Regions from separate parts of the Homo sapiens genome. Here region 1 is linked to region 2. Evidence: promoter capture Hi-C in 16 types of primary human blood cells and fetal thymus (Javierre and others, 2016). All regions are on one chromosome and are shown on one strand. Each heading gives the region's core, a stretch centred on a gene start or on the middle of the fragment in contact. The rest is flanking DNA. Distances are from core to core; before and after follow the strand shown. Region 1 holds the start of STK24 (serine/threonine kinase 24). Region 2 holds the start of TEX30 (testis expressed 30).

Region 1 (5,760 bases), core at 3,097-5,596, 4.2 Mb before region 2:
TATTTTCAAATATGAAACTATGTTAAACTTACAACTTCAAAACATGGTAAATTAACCAGGCCCTGCAATATGCAATACATGTGACGTATATAATTCAGTATTTTTCAAACTGTGGGTCAGGAATCAGTGGGCTGTGAAATCAATCTAGTGTTGCAACCAGCTCCTTTTTTAAATATACCACAACAGCACATCACAAGCACAGGCTGAGCATCCCTGATCCAAAATGCTCCAAAATATGAAACTTTTCAGCGCCAACATGACACTCAAAGGAAATGCTCATTGGGAGCACTTCTGATTTCGGATGTTCAACAAGCATATAATGCAAATATTCCAAAATTCGAAACACTTGTGGTCCCAAGCATTTTGGATGAGGGATACTCAACCCGTAGTAAGGATTAGTACGGTCTCCTGAAACTTGTTTTTGATCCTGATGTAAAATATATTTCTTACATGGGTCACGGTTCAGAAAAGTTGAAAAGTGACTGATAAAATTTTGTAACAGAAATGTGCAAACCAAAATCTCATTTTTAAATCACATTTCTGCAAACTCAAAGCCGATTGGTGTTCCTGCCTCCATCTGAAGCTTTTCTTTTAATCTCAATTGAGTGAAACAACAAATGCTCAATGAAAGACGGAGTACTTATAGCCACAGATCAGCCTGATTTCTTTATGTTTATTCGTCACTATATTCATTCAGTTTCTGATGTCTATTTTTTTCCCCTACTGAAATATAAAACTGGGGTTTAAGAGAAAAAAAGCAAAGGCTTCAGCAACTTTCATTAAACATTTACTTTAAATGGTAACCTCATTCAGATCTACCACTTTCAACCCCTCCCCTAGGACCTGGCACATGAAAGTTCAATAAGGGTTGCTGATTGAATAAATTAAAAAATCAGCCTCCTATTTCTAATTTCTTTAGCCAATCTAACTAGCAATGAGATAAACTTTAATGTTTGCAAAAGTAACCATAAAACAGTAACACTGCATGATGAGTGGGAGTAGGAGGAGTAGTAGTTTCCAATCACAAATTTGCCACATAATATATGATCTCACCTTGGTCAGTTAAGTCTTCCTTGGTCTCCACATCTACAAAATGGTATAATATCATCTACATCTCAAACGGTACCGGTAAGAATCAAGAGGCATAAAAATGATTTGCAAAACATTGAAAAATGGTGTTTATACTAACATGGTTGTTATTTTTCAAGCATCCTTGCCTAGGCCACCTGAATTCACTCTGCTTTATTTTTTTATTTTATTTTTTTTTTTGAGACGGAGTCTGCCTCTGTCGCCCAGGCTGGGGTGCAACGGCACAATCTCAGCTCAACGCAACCTCCGCCTCCCGGGTTCAAGTGATTCTCCTGCCTCAGCCTCCCGAGTAGCTGGGATTACAGGCGTGTGCCACCACGCCCAGCTAATTTTTTGGATTTTTAGTAGAAACAGGGTTTCACCATGTTAGCCAGGATGGTCTCGATCTCCTGACCTCATGATCCGCCCACTTCGGCCTCTCAAACTGCTGAGATTACAGACTCTGCTGTCTTTCTAAGCCAACTCCTTATAAGCCCTGGTCAGGAGACAAGAAAAAGGGAGGGCTATGAGGCCTATCAGAGCAAGCCATAGAAGAGATACGGACTTCTCTCCTCCCATTTAGCAGACAACAGTCGAAAGCAGGTGTGTTTTTAATTGAATCTTCAGCAACAACTCTTAGGGAAGCCTCCCAGGGCAGTAGCAACTGCTAATTTGAAGTAGAAAATAAATGTGCTGTTGTTTTTCTTTTGTGGGGTGGGGGAGGAGAAAAGAATGTTCTTCCCCAAATGATACACTGTTACCATACAGTCTGTAGATGTACTTAGGTACAGGAATGACTGGCAGAAGCCAACTTACCTACCTCTAAAACTGTAAAACTGTAACAGCTGAAAATCTGATCATCTTTTCCACTGAGAAACACTTAAGATCTTTCATACTGAGAAAACAAAATAAAAACAGTTCCCATGTAACACAACCTAACAGATACATAATAGTTGAGAGGCAAAGTTATTAAGGAAATGTATCTTCTTTTCCCAAGGTTTAAGAATTCTGACCCACTCAAAAAAAAAAGTGAGGATAAAAATGAAAAGGTGAGATACTAGATATCACCTGGTAACCATCTGATACTGACTTCACGGCACCAGCCAAAGGGGCTTTAGTACCTTTTCAAACTGATTCGCTATCCACAAAGGCCAATTAACCTAGTAAGTGAGGCATTTGTGCTAGATTCCAACCTGATGAACACGGTATAAATATCAACCTAAAGGAAATATTGATAAAACTTTTTTTTTAAATCATTACAAGAGTCCTTTCTTGCTCGACTAGTAAGAAATTACTTTTTTCACCCAGTTCACTCTGACCTACACACCTCTAAATTCATACCAAAGCGGCTTTAGAAAATACCAAGAAACCACATCTGATTGTTACCCAGCAGTCAGCAGAAGTTTAGGTTTTGAATGCATGCTAAATTCAACGCTCCTTAAATGAGAGTCGACAAAAGAATATTCTTCAAGCATCTTCCCAGTCACTCTTAAGATAATAACTTAACTGTTGCTGCTTAAATGTATATTTATTTACTGCTTAAACATATATACACACATATATATACTGCTTATATATACACACACACACACACACACACATATACACACACACACACTTGGACTAAAATTCTAGCTGCCATTAAAGTGGTAACTTTGAGTTCCTATTTTTCCAGAATTCAAACCTGAACAGTGAAATCCAGTTTTCTTTTTACGGTTTCAAAAAAAGAAGGGAGAGGGATGATCTCACTGGAAGAGGCGAGCAGACCCCAGAGGCAGTCCCAGGTCTGGGCTCTGTGCTTCTCAGCCCTCAAGACACAGGGAAGGAGCCTGTTGGTACCTGTAAATCAACCAGTAATCTACTTGGATGCTTTTGGTTTTCTTCAAACACTTAACGTTCACTCAGCTAAACTGGCAGAGCAAACTTTCATGACATATCCTAACTGCATCCTAAGATTTCCATCCTAAGCATTTTGCCACCATTTCTGCGCCTACAAAGTTTACAAGAGTTAGCCAAGGACGGTAGCTTTGTTTTTCAAAGGGCTAAAAGCAACGACAACGAAAACAACAACAACAAAAAACCTTTAACTTATACATGTAAATTTGAAATTCAACTCCTCTCCCACTCCCCAAAAAGTCACTGGTAGGCCAAGGTGTCACCAAGTACCGAAAGAGAGGTTTACTGGGCGAAGAATTCCTGTAAATGCAACCAAGTCTCAAAGTGAAAGTCCAGGGTCCCGGGGCCGGGCCCGGGACCCTGGTGCGCGGCTGTCCGAGGGATTCCTCCTTCCAGAAGGTTTGCAACTCGCACTTTCCCCCGGTCCGCAGGTGCACGGGGGCTCCGGGCAAAGCCACTGCAAGTGGAACTCGCGGTTACCTTCCTCCACTCCACCCTGCCTACTCCGCTCGGGCCCGGACGAGTCCAGGCGCGCTCCCCGTCCCCGCCCTGCCCAGGTCTCCCGCCCGCCTGCCCGGGGGTGGGGGACGAGCCTGGGGGACGCGTCCTGGGGCCCTCCGCCAACCCGGCCACCACGCAGGGCCCCGGGACCCGGCGGGGGCCTCCAAGGGCATCACTCCACCTCACTTCTCCCGGGGACAGGGCCACCCAGGGCCTGCAGCTCCGGAAGAGTGTTGGGGCGAGGGGAGCGCGGAGGACTAGGCGCCCGCACCCCCACATCCGGACCCAGGCCGCGGTTCCTACGGCTCCTGCACGCACACGCCGGAGACCTCGGCCGCCGGAGCCGGCAGGGACGCCCAGGGACTCGGACTCGGACCCCCGGCCGAGCCGGGCGCGCGGGGAGCCAGGCTCCGGCGCGACCCCGGCCGGCTGAGCGTAGGGGGACGCCGTGTGGATACCGCCAAGTTGCTGCTTCCGCCCCGGTCGCGCATCCCGGCCCCGCGGCCCGCGCCCGCCTACCTGCATGCCGGGCAGGCCCGACTGCACCGGGGAGTGAGCCATGGCGCTCAGGACGGCCACTTCCTGGGACGGGACGGCCGGGCCGCGACGATCCGCGCGGGGCGGCGAGGCCCGCGGGCCGCGCGCAGCCCTCGGGCGGCGGGGCCGGCCGGAGCCCGAGGCCACCCCAGCCCTGGCGGGTCCCGGCCGGGCGGCGGGGGCTCAGCGGCGGGTGGCGGGCCGCGTCTCCATGCACGGCGCCAGGGAGGAGCTGCTGGGGGCGCAGGGCCTCGCGCGCACTGCCGCCGCCGCCGCTGCTGCCGCTACTGCTGGGCTGGAGCCGGGCGGCCTGGGCCCGCGCGCGCTGGCCGCTGGAGCCGGAGTGGGCGCGCACAGCCCGCCGAGCCCGCGAGCGCCGAGCGCGTCCCGCCCCGGCCCGGCCCCCGCGCCCGCCCCCACGGCCCGGCCGGGGACCCCGCCCCGCGCTTCCGGGAGGGGGAGGGGAGAGGCCGGTGGCCGCGCGGGAGCCCTAGGCCGCAGCCGCCGCCTGTCGGCCCGGCCCGGGTCCCAGCTGCTCCTGCGGCGCTCCCACGCCCCCGCGGGCGGGCGGCGGGGCCGGGAGGGGGCCTCGGCTGGGGCGGGCGCCGGGAGGGACCGAGTCGGGGCCGGAGGCTGGCCGCGTGCCCACCGGGCCGGCGCCGGGGCGAGCCTGGGCCGCGGCCCCCTCTTCCCGCCAGCCAGCCCACCCCGCCCCGGCGGCCTCTGGGAAAACGCGTCCCGGGCGAGCCCCTGAGGGCAGGATCGGAGTCGGGGGCACCTGGGGAAGGAGAGCGCCCCGTGGGGCCTCGGCCGGTGGCCTGTGCCAAAAGGCCGGGCAGAGCTGCTTCGGTGTCTGGGTGAAGTTTCCAGCCAACCCAAGAAGGAAACCGAAAGGGAAGAGGCCGAGAGAGAGGTTAATTCCTAGTGCTTTGGTTACCGAAAACAGCCCGGCTGGGACTGCTGGGCTGGGAACTTAGCTAAGCAGTGCGGAGGCTGAACCCCACCATCTCTGGGATCCGCAGCAAATCAGAAGCCCCCACCCACGATAAGGGGAAAATGGGGCGCAGAGGGCAGGGAGGAAGGGAAGAGAATGGAAGGAAAGCGCGTCTGGACTTTGAACTGCAGCCCTCTCCCTCTTTCCCTTGCCTCGGAAGCTCCAGGCCCACTCAGCACCAGTTCTGTCTCCTCTTTTCAGCCGCCTTCTCTCTAGCTACTGAGGGGAAAAGTCAGGATGAAGCGGGTCCCTCGGCCTCCAGAAGGTGTTTTATTACAGTCGCAAACAGGTAGAGCGGCAGCCACCCCAGTGATGACTCCCTGCTCCTTAGATTGTAGGGACGCTGGCACCTCACTCATGCTCCTAAGTGGCCATTTTGCGCCCTGGCTGGGCGAGTTAGGCAGACAAAATGAGCCCCCAAAAGTTTAAAGGCCTCCACCAAAGGAGTATTTCTTTTCTGAGGTGTCATTGTATTCCATCCACGAACTTCAGTTCCCCCGGGTGCTCTGGATCTGACATGGAGTAGGATGCTAACATCTAATCCCTTCTTTCCCTTTGGAAAGATGCATGTTTTTTCTCGGAGTCCTAGGGAATACCTTAGAATACTTTCATGGTTGTCATTGGTACACCCATCCCTTGAGGAGCCCTGCCACCCGTAAGTAGGACTGCAAGGAAATACAAAATTAAGAGAAGTATGAACCCTGATACCCAGGAACTTAAAATCAGGTGTATAAATTTTGTACACCTAAAAAATATGGTACCTA
Region 2 (5,899 bases), core at 451-2,950:
AAGGAGTAAATTTAGATGCATGTAAACAACCACTATCTTAATTTAGAATGCTTCCCTATTTTTTTTTTTTTTGAGACAGGTTCTCGCTCCGGCGGACAGGCCGGAAAATTGAGTGGCGCAATCATAAGCTCACTGAATCCTCGAACTCCTGAGCTCAAGCGATCCTCTCGCCTCAGCCTCTTGAGTAGGTGGGACTACAGACGCTCACCACCACGCCCGCTTATTATTTTTAAATGTTTTTGTAGAGACGAGGGTCTCCCTATGTTTCGCAGGCTGGTCTTGAACTCCCGGGCTCAAGCGATACCCCCTGCCTTGGCCTCCCAAACCGTTGGGATCCCAAGGCGTTTGCCACCTCTCCCGGTCTGCTTTACTTCTTTTCAGACTTCACGATGCACAGTGTGTTCTTCACGGCAGCTGCACACATGCTGGTTTTCTTCAGAAACACGGAAAATGCCCCATAATGCAATCCCCAAGCAACCTGCTCTAGGTCATCTGGGTTTGTTTTTTTGAGACAGAGTCTTGCTCTGTCCCCCAGGCAGGAGTGCAGCGGCGCGATCTCGGCTCACTGCAGCCTCTGCCTCCCGGGTTCAAGAGATTCTCCAGCCTCAGCCTCCCGAGTAGCTGAGATTACAGGCGTCCGCCACCGCGCCCAGCTAATTTTAGTAGAGACGGGGTTTCACCATGTTGGCCAGGCTGGTTTTGAACTCCTGACCTCAGGTGATCCACCCGCCTCGGCCTCCCATGGTGCTGGGGTCAGGCGTGAGCCACCGTGCCAGGCCACTGTCGTCTGGGTTTTCATCTCTGGCTTCAGGTTCAGAGAGGGCAGGGTTTGAAGCCTGGCCCGGCCTCAGTGCCCTCAATGGCGATGGTGAAGATGACCGGCTAGAGGTGCTGCGCCCACGAAACGCCAGCTCTAGTGGCGTCCGGAGCGCCGGCTCCACCGGCTAGGCGGTCGGCGGAGTTCTAGGACGACAACTACTCACAAGGGCTGGGCGATCACCTCCCACGCCACGGGACGGAGACGCCACAGCCCCTTCAACTTTCAGTTACAAACGTTCGTGCCCTGTTACGTCCACAGCATTAAGCTGGCTGTCGTGGGGCAAACAAAAACGTTGAGTCCGAGTCTTACGGGGGGTCGGGTCAACAACCCCAGCAAACATGGAGAGAAAATTCAAAGCGGGTCTCACGGGCGTGCGGGGCTCGGCGGCGCTCGGGGCACGGGATCCGTTCTCTCCGCAAATGCGCGCTGCCGGGGCTGCGCCGCGGGCTGCCCCGGTCGACCCCTCTCAACTCCGAGGCTACTTCGAGCCAGTCACCCGGGACTGGCTGACGTGGTCCAGGTTGGCCCCGTCCGGCTCTCCCCGCCCGTACCAACCCCACATTCCGCCCTCCTACCCGGCAAAGCGGACGAAGCCCCCACCGGCTGGTGCCCGCGGGCACCGAACTTAGCGGAACGCCTCCCGGCTCGGACCAGACGCCCCTGAGGAGTGACGCCCGCGAGCCTCAAACGTCTCAGGCGGGCCTGCCGGGTGCTCTCCCCGTCTCCCAGGAAGCCGCCCGTCAGCCGGCGGCGCCAACCGCCACCGCCGCACTTACCCGGGAAGGCAAAAGTGGCCGCGGGCACCCAACCGCCGTCACTCCCTTCAGGGAGCTGACTAGCGCGCTCGAAGCGACCGCCTCGCCTGCCCCGCCACAGCGTTCGGCTACGACGCACGCGCGCGCAGGCCACGCCCCCCGGGTGCGCGGGCCGGGCCGCAGAGCACGCCGGGAGCGTGGGTCTCCCAGCCCGCCACATCCCAGGGCTGTACGCGCGGACTAGCGGAGCTAGGGGAAGGTGCCAGGGTGGCCGCCGCCTCAGTAGCACGCGGACGGCTGGAAAGTCAGCCCCCGTTTCCGCCTCACCCAGGATTGCTCCACTCGGGGCCTTTCCGCATCCCAGCCACCACTCCATTCCGAGGCGCGATCAGCTCTGACCAGTCTTCCTCACACCCATAGTCGATTCGTTACTCCCGTTAAGGTCAAACGCTGACAGAAACCAGCCGCTTCGCACACTTCTACATGGGGTCAAGCCCCCTGTTATCTTTGCGGGGATGATTGTAACAATCACTTAAATGGTCGCTTCGTACCATCTTGCCCCCGCCTGGGCCTTGTCGGCGACGCCGCAGCCACGTGGATGCTGTGGAAGCCTGTCCCCTGGATCTTCCAAAGGCTCCGCGCTCATTGCCACAGCCAGCGGCCGGCAGTGGCCTAGGCTGTTGCACGCGATCGGTCCCCCACATCTCCCCTCTCCATCTGGCTCCTTTCCCTGGAAGCCCAGGGCAGCCCACACTTCGCTGTCCTCACCCCCACTCACCAGGCGGGACCCCACGACGACCGGCTTTTGTCCTGGCTGCTCCCTCCCAGCGTGGGCCGCGTCTCCTCGGGGTCGACAGGGCGCGTGGTTTTCACAGCGAGGCCTCCCCTGATCACCTCCCCGCTCTTCCTGTCCTTCCCCGGTCACCTCACGAGCTATGGATGTATCTGTGTCTCCTCACTGCGCTATAAGCTCCCAGGTGAAGAAAGGGTTGCTTTTTGTAAATTTTTGTTTTAACCGTGAACCTCTTGTGTATGAATAATGCTCAGAAAAAAAAAAATTTCTTAAATGAATGAATCTTCCCCAAGCCCAGTGCAGTTGGCACCTGCCCTCTTTTCTGTCACGGTACATACAAGGAAATACATTCCACAAAACCACATAGTCGCTGTCATTTATCACAAGTGTTTCCCCAAATTACAAAGTCTTAATACTTCTTTGTCTCCTAATTTTTTAGCTGTGTTTTTAAAAAACATTTCTTTACATGCCATAAAATTCACTCATTTGAAGTGTACCATTCAATCATTTTCAGTAATTTTAAAACCATTTGCAACCATCACTATAATTTAAGAACATTTCCATTATCCCCCTGAAAAGTATTTGCACAGTTATAGTTGAGGTAGGAGATCAGCAGGACTTTCCAAGCACTGATCACCACCTGCTGAGCAAAACAGGATCTGGTCAGAACAGGATGCCCTAAAAAAACGGCCAAAACTGCCCTAAAGAAACAGGCCCAAGCCAGCTAAAACCAGGATGGTGACCAAAGTGACCTCTAGTGCCCTCACTGCTCATTATACACTAATTATAATACATGAACATGCTACAACACTTCCACCAGCACTCTGACAGTTTACGAATGCCATGGCAATGCCCAGACCTTACCTTATATGGTTTAAAAACGGAAGAATTCTCAGTTCCGGGGAACTCCCCACCCCTTTTCTAGAAAATTCGTGAATAACCCACCCCTTATTTAGCGTACGATGAAGGAGTAGGTATAAATATAGCTAGCCAGTGGCCGGGTGCCCTGGCGCATGCCTGTAATCCCAGCACTTTGGGAGACCAAGGCGGGTGGATCACCTGAGGTCAGGAGTTGGAGACCAGCCTGGCCAACACGGTGAAACCCGGCATCTACCAAAAACACAAAAATTACTCAGGCGTAGTGGCAGGCACCTGTAGTCCCAGCTACTCGGGAGCTGAGGCAGGAGAATTGCTTGAACCCTGGAGGCAGAGGTTGCAAAGCCGAGAAGAGCGCACCACTGCACTCCAGGCTGGGCAACAGAGCGAGACTCCGTCTCTCTCTCTCTCTCTCTCTATATATATATATATATACATACACACACACACATATACATATGTGTATATATACACACATATAATATATATCCGTACTATATATAGTATAAATACTATGTATACATATATAGTATAAATATTATATATAGTATTTATGTGTGTATGTATATACTATATACATATAGTCATATAGTATAAATACTATATACATATAGTCATATAGTATAAATACTATATATGTATATATGTGTATATATACACATATGTATATATAACATGTATATGTTTATATACGTATGTATATATTATATGTATGTATATATTATATATGTGTATATATGTGTGTATATACATATATATGTATATACACACATATGTATGTATATACATATATATGTATATGTAGATACATATATATGATATGTATGTATATACATATATATGTATATGTAGATACATATATATATATAGCTAGCCAGCAATCCATGAGTGTTACTCTGCCTGTGGGGTAGCCCTGCTCAGTTTACCAGAAGCAATTTTCCTGTGCTTTGTTGCTCTAATGTACTTGCTTTGCTTTCATTTTACTGTCAGTTTGCTCTTGAATCCTTTCCTGTGCAAAGTCAAGAACCCTCTCAGGCTGAGCTCCAATTTTGGGATTCACTGGCATTACAGCCATTCTCTGTTCCTACCCCTAACCCCGGGCAACCACTAACATACTTTCTGTCTCTCTGGATTTGCCTTTTCTGGACAGTTCATATAAATGGAGTCCTACACTGTATGGTCGTATGCCTCTAGCCTCTTGCACTTAGGATAATGTTTTCAAGGTTTATCCATGCTGTGACATGCATCAGAACTTTGCACCTTGTTACAACTCATATATTTTTATTGCCAAATAGTATTCAGCATTTTTGAGTATCCATTCACCAGTTGGTGGACATTTGAATTGTTTATACTTTTTGGTTATTATGAATAATTCTGCTGTGCCATTCAGAGAAACAAAAGGCGATGTGACGACAGAAGCGGAGAGATTTGAAGATGCCAAGATGCTGGCTGAGAAGATGGAAGAGGGGCCTCAAGACAAGAAATATAAGGACTGCAGCTCTAGAAGCTGGAAATAGCAAGGAAAAGTTTTCCCCTCTCAGAGACTCCAGAAGGAATCAGCCCTGCCAATACCTTGACATGAGCTCTGTGAAACTGGTTTCGGACTCTGACCTCCAAAACTGTGAAAGAATAATTTATGTTGTTTTCAACCACATAAGTTTGTGGTAATTTATCATAGCAACAATAGGAAACTAATACAAAAGCTTTATTTATGAACCAAAAATTGAATTTCATATATGCTTCTCATGTAATGAGATACTCTTCTTTTTATGTTTTTCAGCCACTTAGCAATGTTGAGATTATTCTTAGTTTGCAGGCTGTACAAACACTGGTGGTGGCTCAGATTTGGCCTGTGGGCTATAGTTTGAAATATCCTAAATTAAATATTAGTGCAATTAATTCAGCCATGTATTAAAATAATAATATGTAATAACCCTGGGTTTGTTTTTTTTTTAAACCCTGGGGTTTTATAATGTTTCAAAAATTAGAATGCTATTAATGTAATCCATTACAGATTAATGCAGCAAAAACAAAGCCAAATAAAACATGAGCATTTCAATAGATGACTTAAAAACATTTAATAAAATTTAATGCCTTTCCTATTGAAAAAGGAAATAAGTCAGTATTAGATTGGAAATGTATTGTTTTAATAGTGGTTGTTTATCATAAACTATACCAAACATTTTACTCGACATTGAAAAATCTGTAGCATCTTTGATGATCCAATCTAAAGTAGCCACCACTATCTACCCCACTTTTCTCTATAATACCCTATTTTTATTTATGACAATCCATAATTATCTTGTTTAGTTTTTACTTGTTAATTTCATTCTTTTTCAGAATAGACAGCAGTTGTTCACTTCTGTATCCTTAGAGCACAGTACAATGTCTGGCACATATTAGGTGCTCAACAGTTGTTGAACGAATTCCCATTTGTAATGCTAACTTTATGTGTCAAGTTGGCTGATCCAGGGTGCCTAGATAAGTGGTCACACATTATTCTGCATGTTTTGATGAGGGTGTTTTGGGATAAGATTACCATTTAAATCAGTGAACTGTGAGTAAAGCAGATTGCCCTCTGTAACGTGGCAGGGGGGGGGCCTCATCCAGTTAACTGAAGGAGTAAGTAGAACAAAAGACTAGCCTCCCTTGAGC

What was found. Contacts are between HindIII fragments. The CHiCAGO score rates a contact against its expected background, and 5 or more counts as called.
Region 1: the fragment with the promoter of STK24 here is called in contact with the fragment with the promoter of TEX30 in region 2 in 1 of 17 cell types (total CD8 T cells); the score reaches 5.4 in total CD8 T cells.

What each region holds. Positions count from the first base shown.
Region 1 is chr13:98,572,761-98,578,520 of GRCh38, forward strand. It overlaps STK24 (serine/threonine kinase 24), which reads right to left and starts at 4,347. Exons shown (of 11, transcript NM_001032296.4): 1 at 3,985-4,347. The coding sequence starts at 4,026. It overlaps STK24-AS1 (STK24 antisense RNA 1), which reads left to right and starts at 4,495. Exons shown (of 1, transcript NR_046542.1): 1 at 4,495-5,760. RefSeq lists silencers at 1,857-1,916, 3,381-4,250, 4,301-4,610, 4,631-4,780 and an enhancer at 4,871-5,060. The HindIII fragment of the contact is 9,197 bases long and covers 582-5,760 here.
Region 2 is chr13:102,772,086-102,777,984 of GRCh38, forward strand. It overlaps TEX30 (testis expressed 30), which reads right to left and starts at 1,701. Exons shown (of 6, transcript NM_138779.5): 1 at 1,597-1,701. RefSeq lists enhancers at 1,456-2,133, 2,134-2,811 and a silencer at 1,534-1,873. The HindIII fragment of the contact is 5,388 bases long and covers 1-4,945 here.